Regions from separate parts of the Homo sapiens genome. Here region 2 is linked to region 1. Evidence: promoter capture Hi-C in 16 types of primary human blood cells and fetal thymus (Javierre and others, 2016). All regions are on one chromosome and are shown on one strand. The core of a region is centred on a gene start or on the middle of the fragment in contact, and the rest is flanking DNA. Distances in the headings are between cores, read along the strand shown.

Region 1 (4,532 bases), core at 157-2,656:
ATATCACATGGGATATTCGCCACTTTATTATAAAATAGGCTTTGTGATAGATGATTTTGCCCAATTTTATGCTATTGTATGTGTTTTGGGCACATTTAAGGTAGGCTAGCCTAAGCAAGGATGTTCAGCAGGTTAGGTGTATATTTAATGCGTTTTGACTTAAGATATTTTTTAACTTAAGGTGGATTTATTGGGATGTAATCTTATTGTAAGTCAAGGAGCACCTGCACTCCATAATAATTAAATATGATGATCTTTTATTTTAGCAGTTATGACTTGCCTTATAGGTGGCTATATCTAGGTATCTCACCCCTGAGAAATTATGAGTTCTTTGAGGACCCTGTTCATGTCTTGTACCAATTCAAACACATTAAAGGCATTTAATATGGATTTGATGAAGCAAGGGAGTGTCCAGAGAAGACCAGAGCATCTGTTCTCTCTACCAAAACAAAACTGTGATTGAGGAGGTGAATGTTCATGTATCTGTTCTTCCCTGTAAGGGTAGAGGGTAGGGAAGGAGAACATGGGAGCCTGGGCAGGAGAGGGTCAGAGCTGCATCTATAGAGAGACACCAGTTTGTAGTTACTCTGATGATGTATTAGTTTCCCAGGGCTGCTCTAATAAAGTACCACAAACTGGGTGGCTTAAACAACATAAATTTGTTGTCTTACAGTTTGGGTGGCTAGAAGTCAAGTCAAGGTGTCAGCAGAGCCAGTTCCTTCTGAGGACTCTCTCTTGTAGATGGCCGTCTTCTCTCTCTGTCTCTTCAGATCATCTTTCTGTATTCATGTCTGTGTTCAGATTTCTTCTTCTTATGAGGACACCAGCCATATTGATTAGTGACCACCCTAACAAACTCGTTTTAACTCGATCACCTCTGCAGTAACCACATCTCCATGTGAGGCCTCATTCTGAGGTACCGAAGGTTAGGACTCCAACATATGAATGTTGGAGGGGACACAATTCAGCCCATAGCAGGTGGGTTATCATGCTGGGCTTTAGTGCTTGTCAAGACCCAGCCTGTGCCAGTATGCACACTCACCAACTGCATCTGTCAAAATGTAGGCTCCTTAAAGAAATGCAAGCGCTAAAAACCATGTGTGGTGATTGCCATTTATCCTCTTATTGACAACCTAGTTCATTTCCCCGAGAGAGTGTTTTGTGTGGTCTGAAGCACCTGCCAGTCTATCTCTGCTGTACCCTCCCAAGACAAAAATACAGGAAGCCGAGCCATAGGTGACTACTGGCAACCACTGCCTTTGTGATTTCCTCTTTGGTTTCTTCTATTTTGTTCCCTTCCTTCACTCTGTGGCTTGTCTGGGCATTCACTCTTTGACCCTTGTGGCTAGTCCCTCCCCTTCTTCTTTATTGCCCTGAGTTATCTCCCTATTCCCATAACTCTAATCACTTTTTTCATGTTCTCCTTGAGTGAAGGATGAGGAAATTGAAAGCAGAGTATGCACCTTTTATTAGGAGATTCAAACTGCATCCTACTGGATTAGCCTCAAAAGTCCTAAAATACAAAGACATCCATCTGACAGATCACTGAGGGGAGGACTTGTTTTTCTGTTTTAGAATAGTTTCCGATTAAACTTTTTAGCTCAAGAAGAAAAGAAGCTAGTTATTTCTCACCCAGGAGTGGATTTGTGGTTTGGCTTCACCATGGCTTCCTGCCGTGCCTGGAACCTTAGGGTGCTGGTGGCTGTCGTGTGTGGACTACTGACTGGCATCATTTTGGGACTGGGCATCTGGAGGATTGTGATCAGGATCCAAAGAGGTAATGTTGTCCTGCTATGTTTAACTCAGAGTAAGAGAAGGTATGGGACCTCTGTCCCTGCCACCTGGTGCACAAGTACTGGGAGGTACCTTGTCCAGTCTGAGGCATTCCACCAAGGTGCCATTTATGGGATATAAAAGACCAAGTCAGTTAAGCCTAGCAGATGGTTGAATAGAAATGAATAGGTGTGGGTGTGAGTGGGCAGGGGGAAGAGTGACATAATTGAATTGGCCTCTTTATGCTCTTTTAACTCCAGACTGAATTGGTAGAAGAGTAATAATTAAAACGATTAGTAACACACATTTAGGTCTGTTTGGCTAAATTCAGGAAAGGGTAAATCGTTATGAACAAGGACACACACATGCATCAAACACATACACACACATGCATAACACACATACAATCAAACATACACAGAATGGAATTTCATTTTAAGAGAGAAGTTAAAGAAACTCATCACTAAGGTTTAAGTGAAATGATCTCATGGTTTGCATACAAATTTCCCACTTTCCAGATGTAGGAAACTAATCAAAAATTTAAAAACCATTTTTAAATGACTTTCCTGATTATTCAACGAACATTTGTTAGTCCCCCGCTGTGTGCCAGAGCTGGCCTGGAAAAGGAGGACGTGGGAGGGGAAGTAGTGAGTAAAACAATGATGTTAAAGAAAAGCCCGCTGGAACTCAGAACGCGAAATTTCAATGATCCTAATGCTGGATCCCTTGGGCTGTAGAGCTTCTCCGTAAAGGAATTCAATGTTGGATGGGCTACATACTCCCTTTCGTGAAAATCAGAGAAAGCTTCTAATGAAACAATAAATAAGGGTAAATAATGCCGATCGGGAAAGGCAGCAGGAGAGGCAGTATGCCCTCTGAGCAGGTAACTGGGGAGGACAGAAGGTTGGGGAGCTAGCAGGAGCATGGAGCATGGCTGCAAAGATCCAGTGTTGAAGACCAACAGAGGGATCTGACATACTGGCTGCTGATGGAGTGGTAGCTGGGGATGGATTTGTCCTCCCCCTACCCCACCGCCCTAACCAGTATTTAGAGAATACTGTATCGATAGTATTTAGAGAACTAGAATGAGAAAATTTACCAGAACAAAAATAGTAAAATTTAAACTTGGAGCAAATGTGTTTTTGTTTGTTTAAGGTTGTAAAATAGTTTCATTCAGGTTAAAAAATTATGAACTATGGATTTTACCCCATTAAGGCTGCCAAATTTATAAGACCTCATTTAAAGGACATACTTCACAAAGTTTTGTTTGTTTGTTTTTCCTTCCTTCCTTCCTTCCTTCCTTCCTTCCTTCCTTCCTTCCTTCCTTCCTTCCTTTCTTCTTTCCTTCCTTCCTTCCTTCCTCCCTTCCTTCCCCCCGTTCCTTTTTTCCTTTATGTAAGCGACATCTATTTTTAAAGGGAAATTTATGATGACTTATAAAGGACACAGTTATAGCAAAACCATTAAAAACAAGGACCAAAGTACAAAAACAACATGAGAAAGAGTGCAGGATGGGGGACAGAAAACCTGAAAGTTCAAGGCTTGGGGGGAGTTGCTGAAAATAAATACAAAATATATTCCCGAACTTTCTGAGTACTAAGATCCAAAAGGAGGCATAATAAGTAATAAAGATCCCATGTCTAACAATAGAGGCATACCAGCTCCTCAAAAAGAAAAACTTTTCTCTTGTTCTGAGAAGCATATTTCAATTGGCTGTTTATATAAGGGTCATCTCTTAGCTTTGGGGTAAACCCGATGGAAAAGGAGAGGGTTCTCACTGTCATTTAAAGAAAAAGAGTGAAAGACTGGCACCATTTGCTGTTACTATTTTGCCTTGTACATTTTATTGAGAGTGCATTTGAGTTGGTAAATTCTGTTTCTTTTCACTTCACTCCACTCCACTCTACTCCACTTCTTTTTATCCTATCCCATCCCATCCTATGTAATTGTTGAATATTCTTGCTTGGGTTCCTTTATTCAGGTATAGACATAAATTGTTTTTACATTTTTTTAAGGGGGAGAGAGGTCACACATATCTCTGAGAAACTGATGAAAGCTATAAATGTCTTAGTAGGGAAAATATATATAAACACACAAAATTTTGCATAAATTAATTTTATTGCATTCAAAATTTATTTTGAAGAATCACTCCAGGCTGGAGTAACATATATATAAATTAAAAGAACATATAAATTAAGTCTCTTTCACTTTTATTTTTCTTGGAAAAGTAATGGCCTCATTGTGAAAAATAAAAAAAAATTTCAAATTCTGCTCTGAGTAAATTTCAGTAAGAAGTTACTCTGATTTGGCAGTAAACACTGATGTACAACAATATTTATGCTATTTATGTATTTAATTATTATAATACCTATAGTTTTAAAAATTCTTACTATGTTCTAGGTACTATGCTAAAAACTTAGAGAAAATCTCAGTTTTGCCAGAACTCCAGCCTTTTCACATTGGGCATTCTTCATAGAAAAACACAAGAAGCAGTATAGCTTTTGGGCCCCTTCACTCTTGATGATGAAAGTAAAATGAAAACATAATTAAGCTTTATTATATTTCTTCCCATTGGCATTTTCCAACTTGTGCTAAGCCTGATATAATCATAGACAGATGTCCACAATCATAATGGTAGAAAATGTTTTCTTTAACTCCTCCCAAAGGGAGAGTATCTGAACCTCAAAACACATGAGTAGTGCCTTACTTGACCATATTCTACACCTCTTCTGGTTCGTAGAATTTCCTGCTCTTTGCCA
Region 2 (4,467 bases), core at 1,842-4,341, 750 kb before region 1:
ATTCAGTGAATCCGCTCCAATAAAAATGGGTTGTGGAAGCTGGTTTTATGGACACAAAAGTGAGGTAATTAAATCCAAACTGGCTTAAAGCAGTATCTTATTACAGCTTTCCGTTAGAGTTTCTACTATGGCTCAGAATTGTTATAACTTACTGTGGTTTATCACTATTATTATGTACAATACCAGTTCCTTATTTTTTCAAAAACATCACATCTGTCATCTTCAGTATTCTTTGGTACTAACCATAATTCTGGTTCTTCATTACAAATGATACACTCAGAGGGTTTTTTCAGTTTTTATTTGCAGACACATATAATATATGTCAGCACAGATGTGTGCCTATATTTTATCTCCTCTGTGAGACACTGAGTATTAGTAATAATGCATCATATAATACACATATGAAACACATGGTATATCTAAATGCTATAATACCAGTCATACCCATAATAACTTATATTATAATTCTTACCGCTTTTGATTTTATCTTATTTTTTGTACATTACAGTCAACCCTACTAAAATACAGACTTCTTGAGAACAGGATGAGTATCACTGTCTGATTCATTTCTGTGTCCTACAGTGTCTACCACAAAGCACTTATATGTAGAGGGAACCACATGAATTTTTTTTGAATAAATGAAAGAATGAACAAATACTCCCTTTTGTGAAAAATACTGTAGCACTGTCCTAAGTAGTTTTATTCACTATTTAAGAGGATGCTCTAATATTTACCATGTACATGTTTTTAGGCATTTAAGAAAATGAGGTATGAGTGGGTTTCCCATCAGTGTTCTCCAAGAACATTATTTTCTCTATTTCATAGCTACAGAGCCTCTAGAAAGAATCAACACTGTTGGAACAGGTCCTTCTCTCCTTTCTTCAGATCCCTGCATTAGAACTGTATGTGCTTGCTTGTTTGAGGAGAACAGGGTTAGGTGGTAAACGTCCACATCCTAGCCCATCAGTCTCCTTTGGCTTTATCAACTCTGCTAACAAAGGAGTGACTATTTTATGTTTTCCTCAGAGTCCAGAGATCTACTGGACAAATATGTTTGTTTATTACATAAGCAACATTGTATCAACAGCAGTGACAGTGGAAAGGAAATATCTATAATCTGACCACCCTAAAACATCAATTATGTTTCTGTTTTCACAGATTGTTTTGCAGTTTTTCAGATGCTTGGTCCATAGAAATAAACTTAGGGTGATCATCAAGCAATAAAACGAATTCCACAAGCCATTAATGGTACTGTATTGTTTCTATTAGTTTCAGAAATCAGCCTGTAAATAGAGAATAACTTCAGAGTCAGCTTAGCTTCTCATCTGTCTCTTTAAGGAAACCTATTTTTCACTATGTTCACTATGTAAATCTTGAATTTAATGTTTCTGATGTTATGAATATGGCAAGACTTTTATTCATTTAATATACAAACAACAAAGACAATCATTAGTACTAAGGCTATCCTGAGATGAACAGGGGATAGAGGATCCTATTCTCAAAGTGTTTATAGGCTAATTAGGAAAGAAAAAGGAGATAGTTCCAGCACAATTCAGTAAAGGCTCCAGAGCAGTAGTTCGTAACCTTTTAGGTCTCATGACCCCTTTACACTCAAAAAATTTTGAGGACCCTAAAGAGCTTTTGAGTGTATGGGCTGTATCTATCTCTTTACTGTATTAGAAATTCAAACTAAGATTTTAAAAATACTCATTAGTGCCAGATGCAGTGGCTCACACCTATAATCCCAGCACTTTGGGAGGCTGAGGCAGGCGGATCATGAGGTGAGGAGATCGAGACCATCCTGGCTAACATGGTGAAACCCTGTCTCCACTAAAAATACAAAAAATTAGCTGGGCATGGTGGCACGTGCCTGTGGTCCCAGCTACTTGGGAGGCTGAGGCAGGAGAATTGCTTGAACCCGTGAGGCAGAGGTTGCAATGAGCTGAGATCACACCACTGCACTCCAGCCTGGGCGACACAGCAAGACTCTGTCTCAAAAATAAAATTTAAAAAAAATCATTTGTTAAAAATAATAAATAATAATAAATCCATCATCTGCTAAATAACATATTTTTATGAAAAAATACTTTTACAAAATTATTTAGTGAGAAGAGTTGCATTGTTTTACATTTCTGCAACTAATGTCTGGCTTAATTGAAGACAGCTGTATCCTCAGATCTGTTTCACACATTCCATTAGCTGTCAGAGAAATCATCACACGTCATGGAGCCTCTGGAAAACTCCATATACACTTCTGAGAGAATGAGAGAGAAAAAGGTTGTGTTATTATGAAGATATCTTCTTCACTCTCAAAGGGGGCCACACTTTAAGAACCATTACTCCAGAGGATAGACAGTTGAAACATCAGTGGCAAATTTGTCTTTCTCTGGAAAAGCGTCTGGTTTGGGCTGTCACCTTGTGCTTCTTCTGTCAGCCTTTTGCTTCATCCTGATGAAGTCCCCCAATTCACTGGCTTAGTCACTGCTTTGATGTTTCCATCATTAATAAAGCCAGTCACTTGCTAACCGTCAAACATAGATGGGAGATTCTCTGCCTTCAAATGTTCTCTCCCAGTCCACAGAAAAGTCCTAAATGACAAAACTGTTTTCATAAGACATTGTGTTTTGTTTGAAACTCCAATTTGAAATAAGAGTATGGAAACCACTAAGTTGCCTGGTTTTTATAAATGGGTCCATCCATAGTGCTATGCAGTTCAGCTGACATTTAATTCATTTCAGACCTTGATGAGACAAATACAGTGACAGCTACTATGTGCAAGGCACTGTACTTGCTATTTGTCAGTTCTTTTTTCCCCAAAACCTGCCTGTATTCTTGCACAGATCAGTCTGATCATACTTACAGTATTCTCCCAGTAACAACCAAATAGTATGATGATACCAAAGCTTGTTTGGTCTTAAGATGTTTGAAACAGTGTAACAGTCACCCTAGTCCTAAGTATGTAACTTCATTTTGATGGGCTTAAATTCCTGTATTTGTTCTCATTATTCCAGAGCTAGTTTAATACATTACTTTTTCTTCCTGATTTAATATGTTGATTACTAAGCAGAAAACTGCATACATCACACTCCTTTATTTATTTTTATATCTGCTCTCACAGCTAGACTTTGATAGCCTGATTATGATTATATCCCATTTTATCTTTTAGCAATTCTTGTCTAATACATAATTTTAACTGTGTTGCGTTGATAGTAGCTGTGTTCATGGTTAAATAACCATGGATTTCTAGCAGTTTGCAGAGTAATTACATGGAATTTATTGGAAAGCTTCTTTATTTGAGATAAATTTTGGTATCAGGCCTATAATTTATGTTTCCTTGCTTTCCTCCCTGCTTTTTCTATGGGACTTTTCACTGTTTAGTCTAAATTTTAAGAGCACTCATAAAAATAGCTGTGACCCGTCTTTTTTATTCTGTGTATGCTGCTTCCTTGTATTTCACAAGTCAAAGGTTTTCTAAAAATTACAGCTACAGCATACCATAGCCATAATGTAATGTACAATTCATTTGACTTAGTCAGCAAGATCAGTAGAACAGTAACACTTTTTTTGGCATCTGCTAGTTGAATATGAGTGTACATCTATGTCTGCTTTATGTCCTTGTTACTGAAGATCCTGTCATCATCACTGAGATCCTTTAGAGATACCATAAATGGGTCCAGACCCAGCAATTTGGGTTAATACTATTTTCCTTCATTGTGAAATAAGAATTAGGGCAGGAAGTTAAGAAGGAGGCTTTAGCTTGGTGTCAGAGGAATATATGGTAAAAATGGTATACTGTTAGTCATTACTCTTCATCACCTGAACGATTAATCTTACTAGGCCCCCCAGAGGTCAGGAGAAGTGAAATAAGATGGAAATAGTCAAATGACCCATTAATTATAAGGAGCTTGGTAGCTTTTAGCAGAGAATCAGGATTCTAAAAAGCGGTACTGAAATCCTCAAATTGAGCACAAGGACTGGAATTGAGGCAAATCTCACTCTTTTAAGAGCAGAAAAAGGAGCAAAGTAACTGAGAAAAAGGGTCTCTGAAAGGTGAGGTTCCAGAACAAGTAAAAGGCCAGTCTGAGGGTCCACAGGCACAGAACTTGGGTAGTTAGGCAGCTACAAGGAGAATATTTTCATCTTGAGAACAAAGGAGGTGCCCATGATTCTGGGCTAGAAAAGACACTGTCCATGCTGCTATGAAAGGGCCAGGTGGAGACTTGAAAAGATGCTCAGGCTAGACCTGGAAGAAGAAACTGGAACTGACAGGGGAGTGACAACAAGTACAGCACATGTAAATTTGTACCAGGATAATTACTGCCTAAATAATGTGTTTTGACTTCTGCAGTACTGTATTGTTAGGGAGCTTTCTAGTAAGAACCTTTGGACAATGGATGTTCATTTAATACCGTGAATATTGTGCCTCTCCTATCACTCTTTTAATTTTTCTTATTAAAAATACCTACT

Evidence for each region. The method cuts DNA at HindIII sites, captures the fragments that hold promoters and counts their contacts. A CHiCAGO score of 5 or more calls a contact.
Region 2: a contact is called between a fragment that was not itself captured here and the fragment with the promoter of ADGRG7 in region 1, in 1 of 17 cell types (total B cells). The highest score is 5.3, in total B cells.

Annotation. Positions count from the first base shown.
Region 1 is chr3:100,608,195-100,612,726 of GRCh38, forward strand. ADGRG7 (adhesion G protein-coupled receptor G7) reads left to right here and starts at 1,407. Exons shown (of 16, transcript NM_032787.3): 1 at 1,407-1,777. The coding sequence starts at 1,663. The HindIII fragment of the contact is 7,171 bases long and covers 1-2,575 here.
Region 2 is chr3:99,856,470-99,860,936 of GRCh38, forward strand. All of the region lies in intron 1 of CMSS1 (cms1 ribosomal small subunit homolog), which reads left to right. All of the region lies in intron 4 of FILIP1L (filamin A interacting protein 1 like), which reads right to left. The region is part of intron 1 of LOC105374010 (a long non-coding RNA gene); the gene reads left to right. Among named protein-coding and RNA genes, the nearest start is that of HP09053, 35 kb to the left of the region's middle. The HindIII fragment of the contact is 381 bases long and covers 2,902-3,282 here.